Linked DNA regions of Homo sapiens: region 1 is linked to region 2. The links are contacts of gene promoters, found by promoter capture Hi-C in blood cells and fetal thymus (Javierre and others, 2016). All regions are on one chromosome and are shown on one strand. Each heading gives the region's core, a stretch centred on a gene start or on the middle of the fragment in contact. The rest is flanking DNA. Distances are from core to core; before and after follow the strand shown. Region 1 overlaps SEL1L3 (SEL1L family member 3). Region 2 holds the start of ANAPC4 (anaphase promoting complex subunit 4).

What was found. Contacts are between HindIII fragments. The CHiCAGO score rates a contact against its expected background, and 5 or more counts as called.
Region 1: a fragment that was not itself captured here is called in contact with the fragment with the promoter of ANAPC4 in region 2 in 1 of 17 cell types (endothelial precursors); the score reaches 5.9 in endothelial precursors.

What each region holds. Positions count from the first base shown.
Region 1 is chr4:25,774,071-25,776,770 of GRCh38, reverse strand. It overlaps SEL1L3 (SEL1L family member 3), which reads left to right. Exons shown (of 24, transcript NM_015187.5): 17 at 411-494. Among named protein-coding and RNA genes, the nearest start is that of SEL1L3, 88 kb to the left of the region's middle. The HindIII fragment of the contact is 1,149 bases long and covers 773-1,921 here.
Region 2 is chr4:25,375,876-25,378,575 of GRCh38, reverse strand. It overlaps ANAPC4 (anaphase promoting complex subunit 4), which reads right to left and starts at 1,313. Exons shown (of 29, transcript NM_013367.3): 1 at 1,232-1,313; 2 at 1,020-1,158. The coding sequence starts at 1,148. RefSeq lists enhancers at 911-980, 1,011-1,070 and a silencer at 1,191-1,610. The HindIII fragment of the contact is 5,076 bases long and covers 1-2,700 here.

The DNA of each region.
Region 1 (2,700 bases), core at 98-2,597, 400 kb before region 2:
AATCTAAAGATTATAACAGACTAGCTCATTACTAATAAACCCCTAATAAATTAGAGAACAAAGCAAAATAGGGAAAGCTAATAATAAGTCAGTAAACATGACTTAATAGAGTACTAGAACTCTTGGTAGAGATTATATTTTTTCATATTGGTGGATATATTTCATTATGTATCTTACATGTCTTTGTTTCCATAAAAGACAACTCCTAATCATTCATAAGAAAGGGCACTAAATGAAAAGCTCTCAGAATGCATTTTCTTTACCTTAACATTCAGTTCTGGTTTGTTGCTCTATAAAAATTCTAACTAGCAAAATATTCCCCAAGTGGGATTTATTGAGAGCATATGAAGAAAAACATTTTATTAAATTTGCCATGGTTTGCGTATTTTCTCTTCCCTTTTTTTTTTCAGATGGGCAAAACATGTAGCTGAGAAAAATGGCTACTTGGGCCATGTCATCCGCAAAGGCCTCAATGCCTACCTGGAAGGTTCATGGTAAGCTTGGGATCCACGTTAGAGCAAACTTTTTTCCCTGTCTGTCAGTATAGTCTTATGAAATGGAGTCTTAAAATGCAACTGAGAAAGCAATTTGCAGGGAAATCACAGCTCCCAGTAATGATATTCAGAGTATCATGGACTGATTGGCTGTTGATTGGAAAACATAGCATTTCCATGTTTAATTATACACAAAAATTTGTTCTCTAGGGGAATTGTTCACACTCATCAAGTTGAGAAAGATATACAAATACATTGATTTCTCTTTCCTTTAAGCTTGCCCCTCTTGGTTTTAGAGTCTGGTCTGGAGACAGCATAGGGGATCTTAGGTGAGACTCTCTGCTTTTTATTTCCAGGCCACAGAAAGTCCAGAATTTCTACCTTGTTCCTAGCAAGAAGAGAGATCAGTGTTTAAGGTTCAGGCCACCTCTTCCATAGATGTTTTACTGCATCTGCCATGACTAGGAGCCTGGGATTGTTGGAAGTCCAGTATCCAATGGCACAAACAAACAGATGCCCTCCTTCCTAACCTTCTGGTGGAGTTAGCAAATCTCATCTTGTTCTTTATGGGATGAAACATGGTGTATGAGGACCCACAAATGTTCCCTGTTTGCTGTTACTCATAGATTTTACAAATAAGGGACCCCTCTCCTAACTTGACCAGTCTTCTTTCTTTTATTTTTTTCTATCAGTTCTAGCATTCCATTGTTGTTTTAACTTGGGTCACATTTTCTTGGCTGCTTTATTGCTTAAATGATGTGGATATTTCAGTAATAACTAAAAAAAGTCCTCAGTCCACTGCCTCAAAGACATTAGCTGAGACTCAGCATTGATCATACTCTGATTTGAACCTTAATTAAAAATTAAAGTGTAAGTTCAAAAGAATGACATTTTCCCTTTTAGTCCATGGCTGCACACGCAACCAACAGATAGCATCTCAATGAGTAAGAATCTTAAATTAGAAAGTGTAGGAGAAATGAGGCCAATGAAGAAAGCACCAAATGCAAATTTTTATTATCATCATCCTGTGAAAGTTTATTACCTGTGGCCTCACTTTGCACAATCAAAAAGAGATTTTTTTCAGAAAGTTACTGTTTCCCCATCGTAAATGTACCTTACAATTTTTGTGATGCTTTATCTTGTTTCTCAAGTGAACTTCAGTTCATAAAACTCCCAAATTTGACTTTAACTCATTCTCTGCTTCTCGCTTTCCCAACCTCCCACCCTCTGCTCCCTACAAACTTCTTAGGATGAACTAAACATTCAGATATCGGAGTGTTTATTTTTGGGGTTTTCCCAAAGGAAGAGCACTCCTGTAAACACTCCTCCCCAACCCACCCCTGCCCCCATGATGTCTGACACTGTTTTTCTCATAGAGTCTTTGTTAGTTCCTTAGCTTTCTTGCCTACTTTTGTTGTTTTGAAGCTTTTTTGAGATGAAGTCTCACTCTGTCACCCAGGCTAGGGTGCAGTGGCACGATCTTGGCTCACTGCAGCCTCCGCCTGCCGGGTTCAAGCAATTCTCCTGAGTAGCTGGGATTACAGGTGCCCACCACCACGCCCAGATAATTTTTGTATTTTTAGTAGAGAGGGTTTCTTCATGTTGGCCAGGCTGGTCTTGAACTCCTGACCTCAGGTGATTCACCACCTTGGCCTCCCAAAGTGTTGGGATTACAGGCATGAGCCACCTCACCTGGGCCCTGCTTTTGAATTTAATATCACAAAGCACTTTAGCATATTGTAAAAGCTGCTGCGAAGGCCTAGATGAATTAAGATTTCTGTGGCTTGTTCTCTTTCTTAATACTCAGCCTCATCATGGTTTTCTGTTTGGGTGGTTGGTTGGTTGATTGGTTGGTTGGTTGGTTGGGGGAAGGAGAAAGGAGACCTGAAGTGTGTCCTGTACCCTTTGTGAGTTTGGATTCAGTTCCGCAGATTTTACTGAGTACATTTAAATGCAGGTTGCCTGGCCACAGGTTTCGAGAGATGCCTCAAATAGGGCTTAGGGAAATTTGCTGCCTCATCTCTTCTGCAGGCAGGTTCTCATGTGGCCCATATTCTATCTGATCTCTGAGCCCTTGCGCTGGCTTTTTCCTCTGCCCCGGAATCCTACCTAACTCCTTATTTCCTTTTGTTCTTCCATGGATCATGATTGCTTTTTACATGTCAATTGCCTGATAACTTCTATCCCAGTTCCTTACACACTGGGG
Region 2 (2,700 bases), core at 64-2,563:
ATCTGATTGCACGGATGTGCCTCCCGTCTACCTTCCCTCCTACTTCTGTGACGGTACCACCTGCTGCTCTCTAGAGCCACAACAGAGTTTCAAAGCATCCCGGCAGCGGAGGGAGACTAGCTAGATTTCATGGAGGGCCCTGAAAAATTAGACATCAATACCCTGGCGACTGGATCATGGTAGATAACATGGTGCAGACTACAGTCTGCAGGGTGCTAAGATTTCCTTATCACCTAGTTTCCAAATTTGGCTCTATACAACTCTCACATGGCCAGATAACTCTCAAGCCAGAGGCGGAAAGATGCACAGGTGAAGGTTTCCTTACAAAATGGCTGGCAGGTAATAACTCTCAGCAGAAAGTTGGGTACAACTGGTTTATACTCGATGAAGTTTTATGTGAACAAGAAATGCTGATAACACCCATGCACGTTCTGTCTGGAATCCAATGCATGCCTTCCTTGTCCAATTTAGAGGTATTTTTAGTGGAGGGTGGTTATCCAACCCGTACTATAAAACGTGGACAAGAGAAGCCAGGTTCTTAAATATATCCTGTGTGGCAGCTACATGCAGGCACATTTGCAGCTGAAGTTTGACAATAACTCTTCCTACTGCTATTAAAACTGTAAGCAAACTTAGGGCAGGGTCCCTGCATCTACCATTATGTCTAGCTCATGAGCAGCACATAGTGGGCTTTTTTAAAAAGTTCATTTAACTAATAAACCAATGAGTGAAGAAGACTTGGGGAAGCAGGATTGCGTGACGGTGTTAAGCTGTGTGAAAACTGTTACTTTAGCCATAAAAGTACCGAAAATAGCACAGACATCACCTTTCGCATATATACTTAAAGTTTACTGCCGTCCTGGGAGGCAGGGAAGGGGTAGCAGGTGGCCAGCCATGTCTGCAGAAGGGGAAACTGAGGCTCCGGCCGCCTGTGGCCCGAATGAACAGGCTCGGGCTCGGTGTTCTTGGGCCCCCCGGGAGCAGACCCAGCACAGGCGGGCTCCCGCCGGCTCACTCACCTCGCCAGCTGTGTTGGCCAAAGCAATGAGATCCCGCTTGGGCGACCAGACCAGGAAAATAATCTCCTGCGGGAGCTGCTTCTCTCCCACCACCCGGAAGGATGGGAAACAGGTCGGAAAACGCAACATGGGGACGGCCCTGCAACGACACCCCAGTCAGAGGCCGGCAGGAGCCCCCGGCTCTCCACGAGGAGCCCCGACCGCGCCTGTACCTGCAAGAGTCCCCACCGGCAGACTAACACGGCCCCAGTGGCCTCTCCCCTCCCTCTGCCGGCCGCGCGCCACAGCCTCCAGGCCGCCCCGCCCCGCCGCTGTCGCGCGCTCCAGGCACTTCCGGCGTCGGGACTGCCTCGCGAGAGGAGGAGGAGGGGCGGGGCGCGCACCGGTCTTGGGGGTGCTGAGAGCCAGAAGGGGCGGACAGGGACGGGGCGCGGTGGGCGGGGCAGGGAGGAGCGAGGGGCGGATCGAGGTGGGGGTAGGATGGGGCCCGTGGGCGGGGCAGGGAGCAGCGATGGGGCAGAGCTAGGAAGGGTGGGGCACGCGGGCGGGGCAGGGAGCCCCGAGGGGCGCGGAGAGGGAGGGAGCCGCGCGCCGGACCCAGGTGCTGGTGGGATCGCTGGGCGCCGGGACCTGAAAGGGCCCGAGAAGGGCGGGGCAGGCCCCTGCGGCCACACGCAGGTCTTTTGGGAACCCGTGTGTGCACGTGTGTGGGCATGCTTGCATACCTTTCCCGTTTTCCCGGAAATTCTCTGCTGTGGGCAAAGGGACGGTAGGGGTTTATGGGGTAGGCTTCAGCGACAACGGGGAGATGAAAAAGAATATGAACTTTAGGTCCTGATCAGCTGGCGCCTCCTCTAACAGTTACTAAGCGAGTAGTTCTCATGTCAGTCCTGGTGGGTCAGTATAGAATTTTAAAAGTCCCCCTGTCCAAGCAGCACCCCAAACCAATTAGAAGAAAATTAACCCTGGATGGGCCCAGTATTTACTAAAACTCTTTGGGTGATTCCAATTTGGAGAGAAGAGGCGCGTGCCCTAAAACCTCCCTAACAGGCAAATAATACTGTGACATCTCATCCCATTTAACCCTCACAACTTATTGGTAGTTGCAGCACCGTCATAACGAATAAAGAGTGTGGGCTCAGGGCCGGGCGCGGTGGCTCACGCCTGTAATCCCAGCACTTTGGGAGGCCGTGGCGGACGGATCACAAGGACAGGAGATAGAGCCCATCCTGGCTAACATGGTGAAACCCCGTCTCTACTAAAAAATACAAAAAAGTAGCCAGGCATGGTGGCGGGCACCTGTAGTCCCATCTACTGGGGAGGCTGAGGCAGGAGAATGGCGTGAACCCGGGAGGCGGAGCTTGCAGTGAGGCGGAGCTTGCAGTGAGGCGGGGCTTGCAGTGAGGCGGAGCTTGCAGTGAGCCGAGATTGTGCCACTGCACTCCAGCCTGGGCAACAGAGCCAGACTCCGTCTCTAAAATATAAAAAAAGAGTGTGGGCTCACACACGATTTCTTCTATAGGTACTTGGGCATTTACTATGTGGAGGAACTGAGGCTACAGCAATGCATGGGACGGGAACTCTGCCCAGAGGCTCACAGGCCAGCCTGGCAGACTTGTAAATCAGAACTCATCTGATGTTGCTTTATGTAGGACACATTTAAATGAGTCAACCTGTTGAC